Regions from separate parts of the Homo sapiens genome. Here regions 2, 3, 4, 5, 6 and 7 are each linked to region 1. Evidence: promoter capture Hi-C in 16 types of primary human blood cells and fetal thymus (Javierre and others, 2016). All regions are on one chromosome and are shown on one strand. Each heading gives the region's core, a stretch centred on a gene start or on the middle of the fragment in contact. The rest is flanking DNA. Distances are from core to core; before and after follow the strand shown. Region 1 holds the start of NAP1L1 (nucleosome assembly protein 1 like 1). Region 2 has its middle 3.4 kb from the start of E2F7. Region 3 overlaps CSRP2 (cysteine and glycine rich protein 2). Region 4 overlaps CAPS2 (calcyphosine 2). Region 5 has its middle 9.6 kb from the start of GLIPR1L2. Region 6 overlaps ZDHHC17 (zDHHC palmitoyltransferase 17). Region 7 overlaps GLIPR1L2 (GLIPR1 like 2).

Evidence for each region. The method cuts DNA at HindIII sites, captures the fragments that hold promoters and counts their contacts. A CHiCAGO score of 5 or more calls a contact.
Region 2: a contact is called between a fragment that was not itself captured here and the fragment with the promoter of NAP1L1 in region 1, in 1 of 17 cell types (fetal thymus). The highest score is 5.5, in fetal thymus.
Region 3: a fragment that was not itself captured here is called in contact with the fragment with the promoter of NAP1L1 in region 1 in 1 of 17 cell types (total B cells); the score reaches 7.5 in total B cells.
Region 4: a contact is called between a fragment that was not itself captured here and the fragment with the promoter of NAP1L1 in region 1, in 1 of 17 cell types (total CD8 T cells). The highest score is 6.7, in total CD8 T cells.
Region 5: a fragment that was not itself captured here is called in contact with the fragment with the promoter of NAP1L1 in region 1 in 4 of 17 cell types (naive B cells, total B cells, activated CD4 T cells and 1 more); the score reaches 6.9 in naive B cells.
Region 6: a fragment that was not itself captured here is called in contact with the fragment with the promoter of NAP1L1 in region 1 in 3 of 17 cell types (total B cells, naive B cells and naive CD8 T cells); the score reaches 6.4 in total B cells.
Region 7: a contact is called between a fragment that was not itself captured here and the fragment with the promoter of NAP1L1 in region 1, in 3 of 17 cell types (naive CD8 T cells, naive CD4 T cells and non-activated CD4 T cells). The highest score is 5.7, in naive CD8 T cells.

What each region holds. Positions count from the first base shown.
Region 1 is chr12:76,083,138-76,086,351 of GRCh38, forward strand. NAP1L1 (nucleosome assembly protein 1 like 1) reads right to left here and starts at 1,548. Exons shown (of 15, transcript NM_004537.7): 1 at 1,430-1,548. LOC124902970 (a long non-coding RNA gene) reads left to right here and starts at 1,948. Exons shown (of 2, transcript XR_007063379.1): 1 at 1,948-2,030; 2 at 3,074-3,214. RefSeq lists silencers at 863-932, 983-1,042, 1,113-1,162, 1,303-1,382, 1,823-1,982 and an enhancer at 1,278-1,819. The HindIII fragment of the contact is 5,148 bases long and covers 415-3,214 here.
Region 2 is chr12:77,067,409-77,070,622 of GRCh38, forward strand. No RefSeq gene overlaps it. Among named protein-coding and RNA genes, the nearest start is that of E2F7, 3.4 kb to the left of the region's middle. The HindIII fragment of the contact is 5,115 bases long and covers 1-3,214 here.
Region 3 is chr12:76,874,051-76,877,264 of GRCh38, forward strand. All of the region lies in intron 1 of CSRP2 (cysteine and glycine rich protein 2), which reads right to left. Among named protein-coding and RNA genes, the nearest start is that of CSRP2, 3.4 kb to the right of the region's middle. RefSeq lists an enhancer at 393-894. The HindIII fragment of the contact is 541 bases long and covers 1,189-1,729 here.
Region 4 is chr12:75,324,362-75,327,575 of GRCh38, forward strand. It overlaps CAPS2 (calcyphosine 2), which reads right to left. Exons shown (of 17, transcript NM_001355024.4): 2 at 2,057-2,166; 3 at 878-927. The coding sequence starts at 2,137. Among named protein-coding and RNA genes, the nearest start is that of CAPS2, 4.4 kb to the right of the region's middle. The HindIII fragment of the contact is 377 bases long and covers 1,243-1,619 here.
Region 5 is chr12:75,379,833-75,383,046 of GRCh38, forward strand. It overlaps a transcript of CAPS2 not described here. Among named protein-coding and RNA genes, the nearest start is that of GLIPR1L2, 9.6 kb to the right of the region's middle. The HindIII fragment of the contact is 5,361 bases long and covers 1-3,214 here.
Region 6 is chr12:76,792,121-76,795,334 of GRCh38, forward strand. The region is part of intron 1 of ZDHHC17 (zDHHC palmitoyltransferase 17); the gene reads left to right. Among named protein-coding and RNA genes, the nearest start is that of ZDHHC17, 30 kb to the left of the region's middle. The HindIII fragment of the contact is 6,806 bases long and covers 1-3,214 here.
Region 7 is chr12:75,397,197-75,400,410 of GRCh38, forward strand. All of the region lies in intron 1 of GLIPR1L2 (GLIPR1 like 2), which reads left to right. Among named protein-coding and RNA genes, the nearest start is that of GLIPR1L2, 7.7 kb to the left of the region's middle. The HindIII fragment of the contact is 8,872 bases long and covers 1-3,214 here.

The DNA of each region.
Region 1 (3,214 bases), core at 298-2,797:
CCCCCCTACACTGCCATCCCCCAGATCTTTAGGGCAGTAGGGTTCATTGACAAGGTTGCAGGCTACAAACTTGGCAAAGTTTATACTAACACCTCATTCCATCCCACCTCCCATCTTAAAAAGGAAACCGTTAAGTATCTTATTCTAGTGACTTCAATAAAGGAACTAATTTATAAGACAGCCAAGAACAATTAAAGTCATAAAGGGCCAAACATTTTATTTTCATCTAAGAACCGTTTGCAGGGGTGGTCCGATCTTTTGGCTTCCCTGGGCCACACTAGAACTGTCTTGGGCCACACGTAAAATACATTAACTAGCTGATGAGCTTTTTTTTCCAAAAAAAAAAAAAAAAAAAAAACCTCATGAATTTGTGTTGGGCCACATTTAAAGCCGTCCTGGGCCGCGGGTTGGACAAGCTTGGTTTAGGGGTTTAGATCGATCAGGATCAATACTCCCCAAATAAAAAACCCTGATCAAGACACCCATCTAACAGTACCTGGGAAACACAATAACAACCTTTTGCTAATAACAGTTAATATAAGCGCTATATACGCGTTAACTTTTTAAAATACTAGCAGTGGAGGCCCTTCCTTATCATCAGCTAACATCCACAATCTCTGGTACCAATAAAAAGATTAAGACCAAAGAGAAGCAGGGAAGAGTTTGAAACCCAGGGACAGGGCTTACTCGCTTACCCTTCCTTTTCACATTCCACCGTCTCTACAACTTTCAAAGTAAGCACAGACCGAGGGCAAGGGTCTCCAACCAGGCCCAGCCAGTGGCCATGAAGCCCATTACCACGTGTGGAGCGAAGCCGCCGGGGGTTTCCCCTCCCCGCGCGGCCGCCCCCAATGGGCGGAGAGCCCGGGAGCGTCGCAGCCTCCCCCGCCCCCTCCCCGCCTCGGGGACTCGTCCCTCCACAGCCCCTCCCTCCCGTCGGAATTCGCAGCCTCCGCCGTTCTTTTCATCTCCCAGCGGCCTCCCTCCTGGTATTATTTTTGAGGGAAAAGCAGGGGGGTGTCCAAGAGGCGGCCGGCTCTGCACTCGGCCCGGCCCGTACGCCGGGGGCCTCCCGGTCCTCGCGGCGCAGCCGAGTCTCAGGGCACCCGGGCGTCACCGCGGCCTCGCTCCGGTCCACGCGGAAAAGACGGTGGAGCTCAGAGAACCTTAGGCCTCCAGGCCGCGCCAACCCCTACGTCGCCTCAGCCGTCCCCGATAAAAGCGCTGGTCGGCCCCGGGGCCCCTCTCAGGCTCCGGGGTCCGGACTCCGCGGTCCTGTCCGACCTCACAGGACGACCCCGGAGGCCACGGGCGGCCAGCGGCCCCGACTCCCGGCTCCCAGTCCCTCCATCCCTCCGGCCCTCCCATCTGCGCAGGCCGCCCAGCCAACACCACGTTCCCCCTTCCCTTCCAGGCCCCCATCCGTTACCGGCGACTAGTATGGGGAGCCAGGCGGCCGGAGCTGCGCAGGCAGTGACTCAGGGCGGCAGCGGCAGCAGCAGCGGGAGGAGCAGGAGGCGGCGCCGCGAGCAGATGGCGCTAAAAAAGACCCAAGAGCCCGCCGCTCGCGCTCATATACAATTAGCGTCAGCACGTAGGGCCCTTTCGCCGCCCTCCTCCCGGCCTTGTAGTCTCCCAGCAACGCGAGCGAGAGGCGGGTCCAGGCCGGGTTGCCTAGCAACTGAACCGTCCTCCTTCCCCGGCGACCTCCATACCCCCACCGAGGACTCCTGCAGCCCCGAGGCCCAGGCGCCGCGCTTGGGCTCCTCTGGTTCCCGCCGGTGTCTAACCTCCTCTGTTAAGCACCCCACCATATCTTTTCTCCCTGCTGAGCCGGAAAGGAAATTTCAACCCCATCAGTTGTGGGGAAGGCCTGGCCCGCGTGCCCGGCGCCCGGCCCGCCCCGCCCCCTTCGGCGTTGTGCTGGGAACGCTCAGGGCTGGCGCCAGTCGCCTGGTCCCTCGCTCGCCGCAGCCTAGACGGCGGACGCTCCCTGTCAAGGCCTAATTCCTGCAACTCGCCGGCCCCCGGTAACCGTTTTCCTTCCCCGCCTAAGAAAAACAGTTTTTTCCTCTAGACCACTTCGGCGGCCTCTTCTGACAGTTTTGCTTCTCCTATGCCAGCGGGTCTCCGCGCCTTTAGGGGGTGCTCGTCATCCTTTGCCCCCCAACCCCCCGCCACATCCTCGTAACTGATGTACAGTCCGTCAGTTCGGCTTCAGTTCTTTTGACGGATGAAAATGGCATATTTGTGCATTCTCTGGATGCGTTATAATGAGGACACTCAGTACGTCCGTTGTTTCATCTTTCTGAAAAAGTAAATCACATTAAATCCTCAGGCTTGTAAAACCTCATAGCTAATTTTCAAGTGATGATGAATTGACTAATACTAACTCAAAAAGTTGTTCTCAGAGTATGGTCTGAGGGTCCCCAGACCCTTTCATGGGGAAGGTCAAAACTATTTCCATATTAATGTCAAGACTGCCTTTTGCATTCTCATTCTCTCACAAGTGTACAGTGGGGTTTTCCGGAGGCTACGTGACATGTGATAAGGAAACAGACTGAAAATAGAAGCAGATAGGAGAATCCAGTCATCTGCGGTTAAACCAGACGTTAAAGAGATTTGCAAAAACTCGATTTGGGGGCAAGGGGGAGTAGTTATTTTTCATATAAAAATTATTTTTTGTTAATATTTGATTGCTTTATTGTTTTTAAATGAAATACTCTTAAAATTTCTCACTTTTAATTTCTGATATAAATATCAGTATCAGTAATGCACATAAAAGTTCTTTGGGGTCCTCAACTTTTAAAGGAGTGTAAAGGAATCCTAAGACCACAAAGTTTGAGAACCTCTTCTCTAAATCTTGCATTTATTGAAACTTCAAACTGCCTAGAATCCCCTATTGTAATCCACACATTTAGCAACTTTATCTTCCGTTTTAGGGGATACAATGTTTTCCTTGGCCCTCCAGAACCTCATTGAAATTATTTGCCTTCCCACTCTATACTGCAGACGACTCTGTTTATTCATTCATTTTAGTTTTTCATATACAATTCCTTTGTTGTTCTCATAGCCTATTCCTGTACACCCTTCTCAACAATGATGTAATGATACAAGGAGCATAATAGCATCAATAATGGATCTTCAGGAAGAACCCACTATACATAAACAAGGTAGACCAGTGCTCAGTTTGAACATAAATTTGACACATTAA
Region 2 (3,214 bases), core at 207-2,706, 980 kb after region 1:
AGAGAAAAGTATGCAAAACATTAAACAAAAGAAAATAGTAATAAAAATCTGACATTTTTTATAGGAATAACATTTTGAACTGAAATCTCTTTTGTAGGTAGAAACCTAATGAGAAGTTTAAACAATAAAAAATTGCAACTTATTAAATTTTGCACATATGTGGAAGCAGAAGTTTAGATAAGGAAATACTTTTCCCAACAGTATTCATTTTCTATGGCTGTTGTAACAAATTACAACTGGCTTATAAGGACAGAGATTTAGTCTCTCACAGTTCTGGAAAGTTAAGGTATTCCCAGGGCCACACTCCCTCTGGGGCTCTTGTCCTTTTCCTCTTCCAGTTTCTGGTGGCTGTTAACAGTCCTTGACACGTGGCAGCCTCACTCCAATTTCTACCTCCATAGTTACGTTGCTTTCTCTTTTGTCTGTTAAGTCTCTCCTGTGTGTCTCCTATGAGGACACCTGTCAATGAATTTAGGTCCCACCTGGATAGTCCAGGATGATCTCATCTTGAGATCTTCAATTTAATTGCATCTGGGAAGATCCTCTTTCCAGAGTAACATTCCTTCATGGGTTCTGGGGATTAGGACATGGATACACCTTTTTGGGGCCCACCATTCAGCCTTCTAGACCAACATTCAAATTATTAAAGTCCATTCATTTCTCTGATATTTCAAAATACTAATGATCGTTTCTTTGAGGTTAGACAGTTTCACGGTACAGGGCTTTTCCTAACATTTTTAGAGTAAAAGTACTTTTTCTATTTTGATACAAATGTAATTTCTATTCAAGTTACAAAAAAAACTCAGTTGGATACATCACTTCAGGCACTTATAATTTCATTGATTATAAGAGTTATCTTAGATTTGGAGGAAAACTGAAAAATAAATGTTTGATGGACAAATTCAGAGACATTATTCCAACACACTTATTTATATTGATGTTTTTAAGTCCCAGAATGCATACATAACCTGTTAATCTCTCGGTAATTCAGTTGACACTGATGTTGGCTGGGAACTAGGCTGGAGTATCAAGAAGAGTCTCGACATGTGACCTCTCCATATGGCCTGGTCTAGATATCCTGGTAGCTCAAGGTAGTTGGACTTCTTCCAGGGTGGCTCCTGGGATCCAAAATGAATGTGTCATGTAGCAAAGTGGAAATAGTATCACCTTTTGTGACGTAGCCTAAGAACTGATAGCATCAATTCCACTACAGTTTTTGGGAGGAAACAGTCAAAAATCCATCCACATTCAAGGGGAGAAGACATATACCTCACTCTCAATGGGAGAAGTGTCAAAGAATTTGGGGCCATATTTCTCTCTCTCTCTCTCTCTCTATATATATATATATATGTGTGTGTGTGTGTGTGTGTGTGTGTGTGTGTATATATATATATATATATATATATATAAAAATAAGTTCTGGGATACATGTGCAGAACATGCAGGTTTGTTACATAGGTATACACGTGCCATGGCATGGTGGTTTGCTGCACCCATCAACCGGTCATCTACATTAGCTATTTCTCCTAAAGCTACCCCTCCCCTTGCTACCCCTACCCCTCCCCTTGCCCCCTACCCCATGACAGGCCCTGGCATGTGATGTTCCCCTCCCTGTGTCCATGTGTTTTCATTGTTCAACTCCCATTCGTTAGTGAGAACATGTGGTGTTTGGTTTTCTGTTCTTGTATTAGTTTGCTGAGAATGATGATTGCCAGCTTCATCCATGTCCTGGCAAAGGACATGAACTCATCCTTTTTTATGGCTCCATAGTATTCCAAGGTGTATAAGTGCCACATTTTCTTTATCCAGTCTATCACTGATGGGTATTTGGGTTGGTTCCAAGTCTCTGCTATTGTGAACAGTGCTGCAATAAACCTCTTCATGTGTCTCCATAGTAGAATGATTTATAATCCTTTGGGTATATACCCCAGTAATGGGATTGCTGGGTCAAATGGTATTTCTGGTTCTAGATCCTTGAGGAATTGCCACACTGTCTTCTACAATGGTTGAACTAATTTACACTCCCACCAACAGTGTAAAAGCATTCCTATTTCTCCACATCCTCACCAGCATCTGTTGTTTCCTGACTTTTTAATGATCACCATTCTAACTGGCATGAGATGGTATCTCATTATGGTTTTTATTTGCATTTATCTAATGACCAGTGATGAGGAGCATTTTTTCATATGTCTGTTGGCTGCATAAATGTCTTCTTTTGAGAAGTGTCTGTTCATATCCTTTGCCCACTTTTTGATGGGGTTGTTTGTTTTTCTCTTCAACATATTTTAAAACTACCGCACCAGGTTTTGTGCCAATTGGAGTATCCTATGACTCTACCTCAATAATTTCTGCCTGAGACATCATTGACTTTGAAACAGTATAGTGTTACCTACATGGCAGCTCTCCCTACATTTCTGTATTGTGCTAATCTTGTAGTTCTCAACCTTGTCTATTCTTTATAGTCATCTGGGGGAGATTTAAAAAAATACCAGCAGCTGAACCCCACACCTAGAGATTTCTAATTTACTTGATCTGGAATTGGCCCTTGGGTATCAAGTATTTTTTAAGTGCTTAGTGTGTTGTTCCTTAGCATCTTGCTAGTTGTACTCTTCTTTCATTGATTCTTTTGGATGCTTCTGACTCAGTGATTTCAGAAATGGATCCTCACGTCCCATCAATGAGGACAGGAAGAGCCGGACAGGTGTGCTGCCCTCCAGAGTAGGCACAGAGGTTTAAAGGGGCTGCATCTCGCTGGTTTGTGGCAATGTCACTGGTTTTTGGAAGGAGTTGAGGCTGTAAATGAGGAATCTGATGAGCAGGGTGGAGCTGTAACAGAAGAGTGAGTAACAAAGGCTGTGCTCAGAAGGATGTATATACAGATTATGTCTGACATTCCTCTCTGCAAAAATCTCCACCACTTCTCAAACCTGTGAATAGTCTTTTACCCTTTTGGGGTTTCACATCCCAAGATTAATCACACTTTACAGAAAAAAAGAGATTTATCACATTTTACAGAAAGAATATACCGTAGTAAAAGTACAATTCATGTCAGTCAGCTCTAGGGCAAGATAGTGTGAGTTGTTCGGTTAAAGTATCAGCCTCCTCACATACTTTCCTTTTCTCCCACTACTGCAAGTGCAGTCATCTTGGTGTGACATCTGTTCTCAAAAGAGCAGCCACAGAAAGGAATTGGTAACTGATTTTTCACCACAAA
Region 3 (3,214 bases), core at 209-2,708, 790 kb after region 1:
AAAAACATGTGGACAAACAATAGCAATATAATAAATGACACAGAGGCATGCAAAAAGGGCTTTTGAAGGTCTGCACCATTTACTTTCACAGGCATGACAAAACAGTTTCATCTTGCAGATCCACTGAGAGTGGATTCCTGGAACTACGTTGAGAAAGATTCTGAAATTCAGTCCAGGTTCTACAATCAAGAGAACTGTGATTAATTATTTTTGCCATGGAAATACCGCAGTACACATGCCACCTTTTAGACATGCCAGATATAAAAGAAACAGTGCGGAGCTTAGAATCAGATAGACACAAGCTGGTTGTCAAAGCTAGTTATCAGCTATGTGATCCTGGCCAAATTTCCTTAACCTCTGAGCCTTAACTTCCTCAGAGGTAACTTGGAAATGGATGAGAACTATCTTATAGGCGGTTGTAAAGATTTAATGAGATAAAGTTTGTAAAGTACCTGGCAAAGAGCCTGTACTCCACAAATGGGCGGGCTTCCTTTTCCTTTAGGAGCACTCGGGGCCTGAATATACCAAGTTCAGTCCGTTAGGTCAAGGGTTCCAACCCCCAGGCCACAGACCGATGGCTGTGTTTTGTGTTCAGGCTACTTGCTACTGGTCTGTGGCCTGCTAGGAACCAGGCTGCACAGCAGGAGGTGAGTGGAGGGTAAGCGAGCATTACCACCTGAGCTCTGCTTCCTGTCAGATCGGCAGAGGCATTAGATTCTCATAGGAGCGGGAACGCTATTGTGAATTGTGTAGGTGAGGGATCTAGGTGCCCACTCGTTACGAGAATCTAATGCCTGGTGATCTGAGATGGAACAGTTTCATCCCAAAATTTCATGCCAAAACCATCCACCCACCATCCATGAAAAAACTGTCTTCCACAAAACTGGTCCCTGGTGCCAAAAAGGATGGGGACTGATGAGTTGGGTGACTTGCTGAGGTCACAGATCTCCAAAGAAACAAATCAGGCTCATGTTTTGATTCCAGAACCACAAGCTTTCCTCAAAACTCCCATATCTGACAGGCACAGAACATTAAGGGTTGAGACTATTCAAATGACCTGAGAATTCTCAATCCTTGAGTTACCAAATTACACACACAAATTACACACCTTCCTCTCCATCCAACTAGCGGTCAGTAAGTGGTCTCTGTGCACCACTCTCACACCCAAACTGCTACTTTCAACCAAAAAGCTTTTTATTACCCCTCTCTGCTAACCTAAATCTAACCCCACTGAAGGAAAACTCTCTTCTAATCTAGTGAACACTCCTGTGTGTACCTCAGCCTCACCATTCTTACTACTTCTGTATTCTGCTACCACTCGTGTCTTCAACTTAGAGTGCAGCAAAATTCGACACAGATTTGAATCACTATCTGCCAAATCCCATATTGTAATTAAAATGCAACTATGCTATAAGCTCAGTAACCCTGATCCCCAACATCTGCCATAGCAATCCACAATCTGTGCAAAACTACAAGTTATTTAATTATTCAAACAATTTAATATTTGCACGATTTTTTCATGGAATCAGACCTAGATATATATGCTGAGACTCTTGTTTATTTGCCAAATGATCACAGGTTGTTCATTTGATCTGCTAGTTTTCTCATTTTAAAAATGGGGACAATGCTTATTTATACAATAAGGCAGTTTTTAGATTAAACAATATATGCAAAACACCTAGAATAGTGTCTGCCACATGACAGGTAATAATTACAAATACTTCTATAAAGCTTAATATATGCTTTACTTATGTTTATATTACCTCATTTAATCCTCATAACAACTAAAGTAAGCACTACCACTATTCTCATTTTATGAGTGGGGAAACTGAGGCATAGAGCTATTAAATGACTCATAACTGTGAAACCAAAATAAAATTATCAATTCAACTTAAAAATGAATACCAATAAAATTCCAATTCAAAATTATTTCACTGATGTTTTGCTAAACTAAACCCCTGGTAGCAATACAGATGTAGTACCGACCTCCATGGCTATGGCATAGGTTCTTCTTAAGCTGAGTAGTTCCTGCACTGCCGTGTGCTGGATGAGGATTCAATTCTCTCTGCTTATTTTCTTTTGGAAGTACTGTGAAACCACCATGAAGCCCTCTTTCCTATAGTGAACTGGGAAGTAATTTGGCCCTAATGTATTACATGGTGTCTGTTCTTATTAGTCGAAGACAATAGTATTGTTGGCACAATAAGATTGTAAACAAAAAAACAAGGAACCTGATATCCTTTCCAGATCATTCACCATGTACTTCTATTAGTTCTTCCTCTGTGACTTACAACAATAAAATTTTTAACAATCAGAAATTGTGCCTGTGGTAAAAAGGAATTTGAAAAGGAAAAAATATAAAAAAAAGAAATTGTGCCCAGCTTCTCCACTATCCAGACTGAGAAATATTCCCTTAATTCAGGATTCTTAACCCAAAGGCCACAATTCCTTTTAATTCTGGGGGTTGGGGAACTTGGTACCACATACTTTATGTTACGTCATTTTGAGAAGGGGTCTGGAGGCCTCACAGGAGTGCCATGATATAAAAAGTCAGAAACCCCACCTAGGTAATCAAAGATCCAGAGGTGTCTGGGGATCCCCACCCAACAGAACCCAAGGGATGGCATGCTGGCAGTCAGGGTAAGGTGCCTTGAGGAAACCTGTGAACATCTGCACAGAGAAGAAAGCTGGCCTCCAGGCAAGGTCTAGGAAACGCTCTTCAGGTGTGAGCCAGCTCTCTCCTGAAACAGACTTTCACTGATAGCCTTTTCCCACATATATTCAACCAAGTGCACAACTTTGTCTAATTACAAGGAACTACTCCCAGGCTGGGCTGGGCTTTGTACAAGTATCAACAGGCCTTATGACAACCCTGCAAGGCATGTGCCACTACACCCATTTTACATGATGAAGTATTGAGGCCAAAGAGTAAAGTTAATTTGCCCAAGGGCATCAAACCAATGGGTACTGGAGTTGAGGTGTGAATTTGGTCCTGCCTGGCTTCGTTCCTCCCCCTTTCAGCCATGCCTCCTCTCCCATAGGGGGCTCCCTTTTGGGGTTCATTTGATTCACCTCACTTTTGACAAAGAAGAAAACCTAGAGACCCAGATCACTATAGCAATTTAGTGTCAGAGTTGCCTCTGGACTCAGGCTTCTAAAACTCCTCATTTATTGCTGTCCTCTACTCTACACCAACATTCTTGCTGTTTTAGGA
Region 4 (3,214 bases), core at 181-2,680, 760 kb before region 1:
TGCTACACATCCTTTATATCAGTAAAAGCTATAATCAACTTAATATATGCTCAAATTTCTTTATAATAAACAAGTAAAATTTACAATAAACTTATAATACACCTTCAGAAAATCAGTCCTTAAACTTTTCTCTGCACACAACTGACACAGCCATTGTTACTTACTCGATATCTTGGATCTAGTGCTTGCACCTAACTCTATTCTTTATGTCAAGATGAGCATACAGGTAATCTATCACACAGAACCACATAAATGTTGATGTTTATTCATTTTGATCTTCAGAAATGTCAATATTGTGTGGTTCAGCTTAGTAAATTACTAAGTTTTTAATTTCTATTTTTAAAAAAGCTCTGTAATCTAAAATACTTGAAAGAATATAAAAATTATATTATTCCAAATTTTAAAAGTCAAAATAACATGCAACATAAAACATAAATTAATATACTCTAAACCAAAAATAAAATAATTTTAAGATTCATAAAATTGTCATACTCCTCAAAATTAAAGCACAGACATAATTATCCTTAAATTGATGCCAACTAAATGAATTATACAAGGATAAAAATTTACACATCTCTTTAATGAATGCATATAGCTGAATTTTCCAAATAAACAAATATTTTCACTTTTTCAGGAAAATGTAAAACATATTAAGGAAAATAAAAAACCAAAGAAGTATTACCTATAATTCTACCATCTTATCACAACAGCTATTTTAATTTTGGTATAGTAATTTTCAGGCTATCCATATGCATATAGATTTTTCTGTGGTTCACAATCATAGCTACATTTATAATTTTGCTTTGTTTTTTAACTAGTCAATGTATGTTATATATGTGCCCATTAAACAGTCCAAATGTGAAGAAACGTAACTTACACTGGTGGGCAAGAATTCTGGTTTGTCCATGACTCAGAAGTCCACCTTTGCTTTAATTAAAAAAAAAACTTTTTGAATCAGTATAAATATGAATATACCCTTTATACTTTAAGAGATACACAATAAGTCAATGCAATAAAGCTAATTATAATTTTTCTCAGTAAATTCTATATAATAAATACTTATTAAGCCCCTTCCTACTGTGCTTGAGACACAGATAAAAAGGCAAGTAAGACAGATAATCCCTAACCACATAGCACTCTGCTGGAGAAGACTTTCTCTCAAATAAACAATAATGGGAAAAAAAAGTCTATAACAGAGCAACTACATAGCAGTATGCCCAACCTACTCTAGGGAATTTAGGAAGCTTGTTTTTTTTTGTTTGTTTTTTTGTTTGTTTGTTTTGTTTTTTTCTTAAGGCAACCTTTAACAGGAGTTCTGAAAGATGAGGAGGAGTTAGCTAGATGAAAAGAGAAGAAAGAAAATTGGTTCAGCTAGGAAACAACTTGTACTGCACAGGCCTCCAGATAAGAGTTAGCATTTGGAAAGGGGTAAAATCCAGAGTGTGAGGGGGGGTAGGGCCAAGCTGTTACATTATAGTACAAGTTAGGGAACTTAGACCTTGTTTTTAAGGTAATGGGAAGACAGTGAAGGGTTTGACAAAGAAAGTAACAAACATGTATGTGTTTGTAAACATTCAATCTTATTGCCAAAAAAACTGCAAGTCATAAAAATTACAGCAAGCTTAGCCACCATGAAATAGAAGATATATATGAGTCTTAGGAAAACTTCAAGTTAATGAAAATAGAAAATAATTCACCCATCAGCACTTATACCCTATTTCTGAAATGTTATCTGACTTGTGCTTTTTTTGTGATATTAGTAGCAACCGTAAAAATTCCATTCTACTATTTTTCTTTTTTTATATTTTCCTTAAACAAATATTCTTAAATAACAATAATAATACAATAAGTTTAATTTTAAAAAATAAAACTAATTCAAGCAGTGGCAATTTTTCAAGTAATCATTATCTTCAATTTTGGTGGTTCCATTCTTCAAATCTAGGAAATGTTGATCCTAAATATCTGTGAATATAAGTAGTCATAAAACATGAAGAAAAGGTAAAAAAATTATTTATAAGTCATCCTGAAAGAAGAAAATTATATAGAGCTCACATACTTGTAGAGGCTTCTTTCTTCCAAAGAATGGCTGAATTTGGCTCCTAGAAGTGGCAGCAACTCCTTTAACCTCTAAATCCATTTGAGTTCCTGTGTTTATCATGCAGTATACTTTGAAAAAGGTAGAGTAAATGTTAAATGGTAATTCTTACTCTAATTTTAAATAAGTCATACAAATTACCTAACAAGTCTACCTGGAAAGAAATCATAAGGTTAATCACTTCTAGTGCTTTTACCAATATCAACTTTTTATAGGGCAATTACATTATGACCTGTGTTAGTATGAATAATGGGCCCCCAAAGAAGGCCATCTCTTAATCCTCAGACCCTGTAAATATACCACCTTACATGGCAAAAAGGACTTCAGATGTGTTTGAATTAAGAATTTTAAGATGGGGAGATTATCCTGGATTCTTTGGTGGGCTCAGTGTAACCACCAGAATCCTTGTAAGAGGGAAGCAAGAAGAACAGAGTGAGACAGAGAAGATGTAAGGATGGAAGCATAGGTCAGAGAGAGGTGAAGATGCTAGGCATTCTGGTTCTGAAGATGGAGGAAGAGGTCATGAGCAGCCTCCTGAAGGCAGAAGAGGCAAGGAATGGATTTTCCTATGGCGCTTCCAGAAAGAACCTGCCCTGTTGACAGCTCGATTTTAGCCCCTTAAGACTAATGTTGTACTTCTGACCTCCAGAACTATAAAATAATAAATTTATGTTGTTTTAAACCACTAAGTTTAAATAAATTTTTAGAGCAACAATAGAAAACTAATGCATCTCCCTCTTCTCTAATACCACCATGACATATACATTTATTTCCTTTACTCATTTCCCAAACCTTTATGAGTTTTGGTTTTGCCAGAGTAGGCTGATGAAAATATTTTTAACAAGCAGTATTCTTCATCTAGAACAAAGAATAAAATGGAGTAAATGGTCCAATTAGTAATAATGTGGTGATTGGTAAAAATGCTAACAAAAGGATATTGAAAGTAATCAACTTGCAAATATGTACAAAATAAAAATCAAATGAATATATTTCATTGAAATTTTTTATATTTTATACTTCACCTTTATATTACCAAGGATAATTTTACATTTAAATATTTATCCATACTTTTTCTATAGTCTTAGATTTATTTTAATAGTAAATTATTTCTGTTTTGTT
Region 5 (3,214 bases), core at 490-2,989, 700 kb before region 1:
TTATGATGCATCCCTATCAGTAAAAAAAAAAAAAAAAAAAAAAAATTGTAGAGTGACCAAAAATCCTAGTTTGCCTGAGACTGAGAGGTTTCCTAGAACATAAGAAAACATGCCCAGACTAGGACATTCTCTAACAAATGTGGAAGTGGTAACCCTTCGATTAAATCAAAAGGTACTATATGTACATTTAACTAAATGTATTATGTATATTTTTATAATAAAGTAATATATTACAAAATACATAACAATTGAACCTAAAAAGGATGAGGTAAAATAAATTTAAAAATAAGTGTTAAAGAGATGTTTATGCCAGGAATATAAAAAGAAACACTTCTGACGGTTTTATATTATTTGCTTGCATTTGTATCTTGACAACTATATTGAATCGGCAATTTCCTCTTAGCAATTTTTGCAGGATATGTGATCATTTTGAGATGGTTTGCTTAGTTAAAACTAGGTAATTTGAACTGTAATTAAATTTACCTGTGATCACTAACTGTACCAGGGGAAATAAATAAATTCCATTATCATCACTTCGAGTGGAACTCCCATTTTCTCTCAGGAAAGCAACATATCACTTGCCAATGTCCTCCAGACTAAAACTACCAGCAACTCACCTGTAGTTATATTCACTGGGTTTGCTTCTTGCAGCTAGGGAAACTACATTGATTATTATAAGAATAACTCAATAAATATTTATTAAGCATGCTCTCATGAAAACTAATATAAAAAAACATTTATTAAGCATGCATAATATCTGGCACCATGCTAAGTGTTAATAATTATTTTTAGTTCTTGTGAATTCAATGAGTGAAAATAAGAGTATTTAAATTTAATAATAGTAATACCTAACAGTAGGTATTACTATGCCAAGCACTAAGTGCCTTACATCTAATAACTTATATAATTCCCTCAATAATGAGGTAGATGCTATTAATTTTTATTCCTTGAACTACCAGTAAAGCTAAACATATTTTCATAAACTACATTCAAATTTACCAATATATTGTTTGAGAGTTATTAAGAAAGGCTAGGAATCTTATTTTCACCTTTGATGAAAAGATTACAGGAAGTTGTTTCAAACATATGACCATACTTCATATTGACCTAATGAATACAGAAGTAATGTACATTCAGGAGTCAAATTTTAATATAAATAGTCTCGGATTTATACTCAATTTTATGGCTCAGTCTTTTAGAGACTGATATGGTCTGGCTGTGTCACCACCCAAATCTCAACTTGAATTGTATCTCCCAGAATTCCCACATGTTGTAGGAGGGACCCAGGGGGAGGTAACTGAATCACAGGGGCCAGTCTTTCCTGTGCTATTCTCATGACAGTGAATAAGTCTCATGAGATCTGATGGGTTTATCAAGGGTTTCTGCTTTTGCTTCTTCCTCATTCTCTCTTGTCGCCGCCATGTAAGAAGTGGCTTTAGCCCTCTGCCATGATTGTGAGAACTTCCCTAGCCATGCGGAACCGTACTAAGTCCAATTAAACCTCTTTCTTTTGTAAATTGCCAAATCTCAGGTATGTCTTTATCAGCAGCATGAAAACAAACTAATACAGCGACAAACGATACTTTAGTTCCAGAGGTCCAAATTCCTCCTGGAATCTAGTTATATACACTCCATCATACCTATATGTGAAAAGAGTAGATGCAGGATGAATATTTCAACTACACTGTTATTTAGACTTTTTTTTTTTTTTTTGGTATATTACCTGTTCATTTTCTTCCTCTATTTTTCTAATGGTGCTGCTGTTATTCATTTTCTTAAGTGTTTTTTTTTTTTTTTTTTTGAGACAGAGTCTCGCTCTGTCACCAGGCTGGAGTGCAGTGGCACAATCTCGGCCCGCTGCAACCTCCGCCTCCCAGGTTCAAGCGATTCTCCTGCCTCAGCCTCCCGAGTAGCTGGGACTACAGGCATGTGTCACCATGCCCAGCTAATTTTTGTATTTTTAGTAGAGACAGGGTTTCACCATGTTGGTCAGGATGGTCTCGATCTCCTGACCTCGTGATCTGCCCACCTCGGCTGCCCAAAGTGCTGGGATTACAGGCATGAGCCACCACACCCAGCCTCTTATGAAATTTGAATGGCTCCCTGTGCATCTGGGATTTTAATCCTTGGACATTTATCTAGCAAATTTCTCAGTTGCCCTATTTTACATTTTAACGAAGTAAAGTCTATCTTTCTACCTTTCAAAGTTGGCTTTTATGTGTGGATCATTTTGCTTTTCTCCTTTAATGCTTCTCATGCACAATTATCTGAATCTTAAATTTGAATTATAGAAAAGATCAATCGAGTATGTAAAGAAACAATGAGAAAGAGTCAATAAAATAAAAACAATGTTTCTAATAACATCTATACAGAGAACAAAATAATACATTTTAGTATCTTCAGTCTTATCCCATGATCATTTTCAGTAAATGTAGATTAAAAATACATTTTTAAATTTGCTAGCTTTTATCCAAATCAAAAAGCATATGGAATTAGAGTATTATTTCCTTAAAATTTCAAGTGTAGACCAGGCATGGTGGCTCACGCCTATAATTCCAGCACTTTGGGAGGCCAAGGTGGGTAGATCACCCGAGGTCAGGAGTTCAAGACCAGCCTGGCCAACATGGTGAAACCCCATCTCTACTAAAAATACAAAAATTAGCTGGGTGTGGTGGTGCATGCCTGTAGTCCCAGCTACTCAGGAGGCTGAGTCATGAGAATCACTTGAACCCAAGAAGCGGAGGTTGCTGTAAGCCAAGATCATGCCACTGCACTCCAGCCTGGGCGACAGAGTGAGACTCCATCTCAAAAAAAAAAAGAAGAAGAATTTTAAAAAATAATTTCAAGTGCAGTGTACAAGTGTACAGAAACTGAGAACTTAAGGAAACTCACAAATCATCTGAGATAAGCAAGAGGCTTAAAGTTTATCCCAAAATTGCTCTTGTTTTTAAAATTAAAGCTATATCTGTTATACATGACAACAGAAATATTAAATGGGTATGCAAAAAGTATATAAGTAGCAGAATTTAAATAATTTAATGAAACCTTATTTTCCACATTCCTTGTAAAGAAATAAATGACTCTGTCAATACCCTCTAACAATTCCAATGCCCTCAGGAAACCGAATGTGATAAATTATTTCCATCACTTTCAATATAAAATAACTTAAAACTGTTTTGCCCCAAATTTCAAAGTTCAAAAATCTACAACCATT
Region 6 (3,214 bases), core at 183-2,682, 710 kb after region 1:
TCACTTGGTCATTCTAGTCACCAGCCCCCTCCTGAGTTTATGCTATATAGGCTCCACTCCAGGTCACTTCATTGGCATAAACTCTGGTGTAGTCAAAAGGGACCTTTAATGAATGACAAAAAACAGTCCTATCACTCAGAAATTTTAAGCATTTTAGGAGCCTTGTGCCGTGAACCTGGGACAAAGACGGATTACACTTATACCACAATAGGTCTAGCATTTTAAAAAGTTAACTAGTTTGCACATAGACACTTGGCGAATAGTTGATTGGTTATATAATCCCATCAAGGTATGCAAATAAACATGTATTATGGCATCTCTCATTGGCATATAAACTAGTATTTGCCCTATACCTGCTGTATAAGATTGAGTCTTGTCATGTTGATTTCTCTTTGCTGCAGTGTTTATCGCAGCTCAGCTTATCCCAGCTCTTCCCATTCCTGTCTACTATTCCTGTCTACTATCTGCTACCTATAGTAGCAGATTTTGGAGGTAATTTCTCTCCTTCCAGTTCTCTTCAAAGCCAGGACTATTAAAACAAACAAAAAAACCTTCTGACTGTCAACTAGATAATGTTAAGAATCTTCCAAGTGACTATAATTTTAAAAAAATATATGAAATCATTTTATGTTCCCCTTAGAACTTGGAGAATGTCTAATCTAGAAGTTTCAGAACTTTTTTTTTAGAAAGCAGCTAAACCTTTAATTGAAGAAATCTTGTATAAAGCTGCATGTCCTGGGGTTCCTACATAAGCAAACCCAAACCCAATTCAATGAAAACAGTGACATCAAACTTAAGTCTAACTAGAGACATTATCAGTTAGAAATCACCAACTGACCTCTAACTTGGGACCTTTTACTGGATCATGATCAAATAAGGCAAATGCCTAGCTAGCTATGGCTGATCAAGTAATTGCTTTGCTTCCAAGTTCAGCCTGTTGAAACCCTCTGCTCATGCTCTGAAGCTGAGCTTGCTGAACCTCTTTTGGTTATTAGTGTTGTCAGATTCGTGAGTTGTCCTTTGCTCAGATAAACTCTGCTAAATTTAATTTGCTTAAAGTTTTTAATACCCAGTATCTAAAAACAAATAATGAAGTGCTTTGTTTAAGACGGGAATGAGGCTGAGTGCAGTGGCTCCTGCCTGTAATCCCAGCACTTTGGGAGGCCGAAGTGGTAGATCACTTCAGGCCAGGAGTTTGAGACCAACCTGGCCAACATGGTGAAACCCTGTCTCTACTAAAAATAGAAAAATTAGGCAGGTGTGGTGGTGTGTGCCTGTAGTCCCAGCTACTCAGGAAGCTGAGGCAGGAGAATGGTTTGTACCTGGGAGGCGGAGGTTGCAGTGAGCTGAGATCATGCCACTGCACTCCAGCCTGGGTGACAGAGTGAGGCTCTGCCTCAAAAGAAGGGAATGAGTGTGTGGAGTTTGAAATCTCTGAGCTCTTCCACTTTTACCTTGAGGCACCTCAGAGGAACTTTTTGCTTATTTTATCCAAATCCCGTTTTACGAAGGAGAGATCTGTACCCTATAGTAGTTAATTGACTTGTTAGGTGTACCCTAGGTAGGGGAGTGGCGGACTTTTATTCATTAGCCTCTCAGTCGTGGATTTTTTTCTATTATACCAAGCTGCTTCTAATGGAATTACTGCGTTCTTAAAAGTTACAATGACACACATACATATTTTTAAATTAGTATTGCTTTTCTTGGTAGAAATAGCAATTAAATTGCTTCTTGGTTTCCATTAACATCGAGGAAAAATTACAGGATTTTATTTTATTTTTTTGAGACAGAGTCTCACTCTGTTGCCCAGGCTGGAGCACAGTGGCGCGATCGTGGCTCACTGCAAGCTCCACCTCCTGGGTTCATGCCTTTCTCCTGCCTCAGCCTCCCGAGTAGCTGGGACTACAGGCGCCTGCCACCATGCTGGGCTAAATTTTGTATTTTTTAGTAGAGACGGGGTTTCACTGTGTTAGCCAGGATGGTCTCAACCTCCTGACCTTGTGATCCACCTGCCTCTGCCTCCCAAAGTGCTGAGATTACAGGCGTGAGCCACTGCACCCGGCCAAATTACAGGATTTTAAAGAGTTTAATGAACTAAATATTTGTATGTTGAAAATATATTTAATATATAATAGCAAATTTTTAGCTTAAAAATTATTATCTATGTTAGATATGCTTATTTATATGAACATGTTAAAAATATGTTTTATAATTAGAACTGTTACTCCTAGGCCTATTGATAGTTGTGATTATCTTGATAGAGTGTTGTCATTTGTCACATTGACAAGGTACTAGTCCTAGAGATAAACCAGTATCCAGTCTGTTTAAAAGTGAGAAATAAAGTTCTTTATTACAAAATTTGTTAGGTAATAAAGCAGGTTGGAGATTTTCATATATACCTTTTCTTTAGTGAGTATAACTCTGCCACTGTAGAATTATTTGAGATATGTTTAGTTAAAGGCATATTTTAAAAAATAGATACCTTTTACTAAGGAAATAAAAACAACCTTATCGGAGGCACAAAACAGATACTTACATAGGTTAATTTTAATATGTTACTGGAAAAAAAAAGTCTAATTTCCAGTAACATTTTTAAGCTCGCATTTGGCAATGTCAGTGAAACAAACTGAGAATACAATTTAATCATTATGTACAGTAAATGAGGTCTCTGGGCATGAAAATAAAATTAAAGTTTCTTGAAAACTTTATGATAGTAATCCTCAGAAAGAGACTTATTTTTATTCTATGAATATTATTGGTATGTAAAAGCAATGTATTTGTCCATAGTAAAAAAGAATAGCATTTTGCCGTAGCACATTTTCAAAGTTTTTTCAAGTTATGTTATTACCTTTTGGATATTATGTTGCCCTCATCTGTGTTTTTACTTATTATTGGAAGGCTCTTGCTTATAATATTTGACTTATTTTTCTTCTCTACTTTGTCTTTCCATTCTGGATTGGAAGTCCTTCAGGATGACAGGCTATATTTTGTATACATGCACAGTGATGCTCTGAGCTATAGTGGAGCCTGAAGCAAAAGGAAGAGTTAGTGATTCTGATGCTGTCTCTGTTTTAAAATGTTGATGTTTGGTTCATGGGTGTGTGTGTGTGTGTGTGTGTGTTTTGTTGCATTGGTTTTGTTTTAAAAATATTCCATTAAAACGTTGTTGTTTTTGTTGTTGTTGATCTTGATTACTGCGTTTTTTGACAACCTC
Region 7 (3,214 bases), core at 341-2,840, 690 kb before region 1:
TTTTCTCTTCAGATTTTTATGATATATTTAACTGGCCAATTGATTTTTTAAAATTTCTAGACTTTTTTTTTAATTTGCTCATATTCCCCCAGTGTCCTGTTTTCTCTTATGATTTCTATTTTTACACTCATTTAATCATTTTAAACATAATTATTTTATATTTTCATAAAATATTTTTAGTGCTTTATTATTTTAGTTTCTTTGGGTGCCAGTTCTCTTGTTTTAGCTACTGAGCCTCTGTCATGTTTATAATTTTCTATCCTATGCTTATTTTCAGCAGAGATTGTGTGTGTGTGAAAGAGTCCCATATTGTCCAAATAGTGGAAAAATAAATATTGCTACAGACTAATTTTTATTAGCTTTTGCCTTACTCCCCTGTTACAGTCAGTTTTACATTTATATTTTTTATATTTATAATGTGTTAAGTTTTGATATTTAAAATTTGTTTGGGTATTCTCAGCATATATAGGCAATGTAAGTATAGTGTCCACTTGTAGGCATAGGATAGATCTAGAACTGATTTCTCACATGACATGACTTTTTTCCATCTGACTTTCTGTCACTTCCTCAGACTTCTAGGAAGGGTTTGGTGGTCTGCTTCATTTAGGAAGAAGTCGGCATCCTGATTTTTCCGCAAATATTTCAGTCCCAGAACTTGTCTTAGATGGTTCTATGGCTACATCTTCTTCCTATATTGTTGGCATTTATATCTAATCTGATATTTCCTCTCCTCCGATTAGGCACATGAGTTCACCACTCGGACTTTTAACTTTTCTCTTCATTTCTGGCACCTGAGTATTACCTTTCCTTCCTTTGAGCTCAGCTGTGGATTTAAAAAAAAAAAAAAAAAAATGCCGGGAGCGGTGGCTCACGCCTGTAATCCCAACACTTCGGGAGGCCAAGGCGGGCAGATCACTTGAGGTTAGGAGTTCTGACCAGCCTGGCCAACATGGTGAAACCCTGTCCCTACTAACAATACAAAAATTGCCGAGCGTTGTGGCAGGCGCCTGTAATCCTAGCTACTCCGAAGGCTGAGGCAGGAGAATCGCTTGAACCCGGGAAGCAGAGGTTGCAGTGAGCTGAGATCGCACCACTGTACTCCAGCCTGGGCGATAGAATGAGACTCCATCTCAAAAAAAAAAAAAAAAAAAAAAACTTTTATCATATAAAGATTGAATTATATGAATTGCTCTTCAACCATTTTTGACCTAGAAAACGCAAGCAATTTCATAGGATTTAAACTAAACATTTTATTCCCATTTTTATGGGTTTGTAATATTAGAAGATTGTGTCTTAGCTTCGTCCTCTTTGTTGCTTCAACTTTCTTACATTCTTGGATGCTAGGAGCACAGAATCCCTCCCTTCTTTTTCTGAGCTGTTCTGGGGCTGAGTGATTCCTAATTCTAACCTGACATGGTAGTACTAGGAGAAGGCTCAAGACTTAGACTCCTCTCATGTACCAGATAATGGGCTGTAGTTTTATATGTAATATCAATTTTTAATTTAATATTACAAATAAATCTTCCTCCTTTTTTAAAAAAAGAAAGAACAGTGCAGTCAATGTTAACATTTTCTAACAGCCACTTCAGTTATGTTCCCTTTCTCCATCCCCAGAGAAAATAACCTTTATGAGTTTGATATGAATCATTCTAATACATTTTTTAAGGTTTTGAATATATATGTGATTATCTAGACCAAAAACACAATGTTTGGAGGTTTCCGTCTTATATTTCTATAAGTGGCATTATGTGGAATTTATCATGTTACTTGGTTTTTCATTCAAAACTATACATTTGAGATTTATTTGTTGATATAAATCTAGTTAATTCAGTTTTATTTGCTATGCTATTTATCCCTTAAATGTACTACCTTTTTTACCTATTCCTTTATTGATGGACATTCAGGTTGTTTTAAAAATAAATAAGCATAGCCAGGATATTTTGAAAAATGAGGGTTATTGAACATATTAGATTTTATAGCATATAATAAAGCCTCACTAAGTAAAATAATACAGTATTAGTATGTTAAAAGATATACCATTGAAAGATATAGAGTTCAGAAATAACCCAAATATATGAGTGTTTAGCATATGATAAAAGTAGCATCTCAAATCTGTGAGCTATAGATAGACTTTTTAATAAATTGGTGTTGATCAATCTGGGTAGTCATTTGAAAAAGGTAATATTGCTTCATCCATACATCAATATAAATTCCAACTAGTCAACAATTCCCCACAGACAAGACAACAAAACTATTGTTGAACTTTGGAGTTTTACTAGCCTGATAGGTAAAATATGATCTGTGATTTTTATTTCTCTTATTATAAGCAAAGCTGTGTATCCTTTCATGTGAATAAGGATCTGTTAGTATCCTTTAATGATTATTTTTCTATTAGTTTTTTTGCCTTTTTTTCTCCCATTATTTATTTGGGAAATGAGCCCTTCGTCTTTGGTATGAGTTGTAATTATGTTCCCAGTTTGTCAGTTTTTTAAATCTACATATGTATTTTTTGCTATTCAGACTTTTTAACATTTTTGTGTAGCTGACTAATCAGTTTTTTAAAATTGCTTCTGGATTTTGTGTCAAAGTCAAAGACCATGCCTACTCCATGTACTACTGGTGTGAAAGCAAAATGATATAGTCCTTGTAGAGAAGAATCTGGCAATACCTACTACATTACAGATGTATTTACTCTTTGGCTCTCTGGTCCCATTTCTGGTATCTATCCTAAGGACATACTATACAAGAAGGAAATGGTATCCCTAAACGGTTATTCACTGTACCATCATTTAATATTAACAAATTATTGGAAAGATACTCTAATCTCCAGCACTGAGGGTTAACTAAAGTAAGTGTGGTTCACCCACATAAAAGAATACCATACACCTGTGGGGAAAAAAAAGAATGAGAACGTTTTTTATTTTTTTATTTTTATTTTTTGAGACAGAGTCTCGCTCTGTTGCCCAGACCGGAGTGCAGTGGCGCCATCTCGGCTCACTGCAACCTCTGCCTCCTGGGTTCATGCCATTCTCCTGCCTCAGCCTCCCGAGTAGCTGGGACTACAGGCACCTGCCACCACGCCCGGCTAATTTTTTTTTGTATTTTTTTTAGTAGATATAGGTTTTCACCACGTTATAGGATGGTCTCAATCTCCTGACCTCGTGATCCTCCCGCCTTGGCCTCCCAAAGTGCTGGGATTACAGGCGTGAGCCAC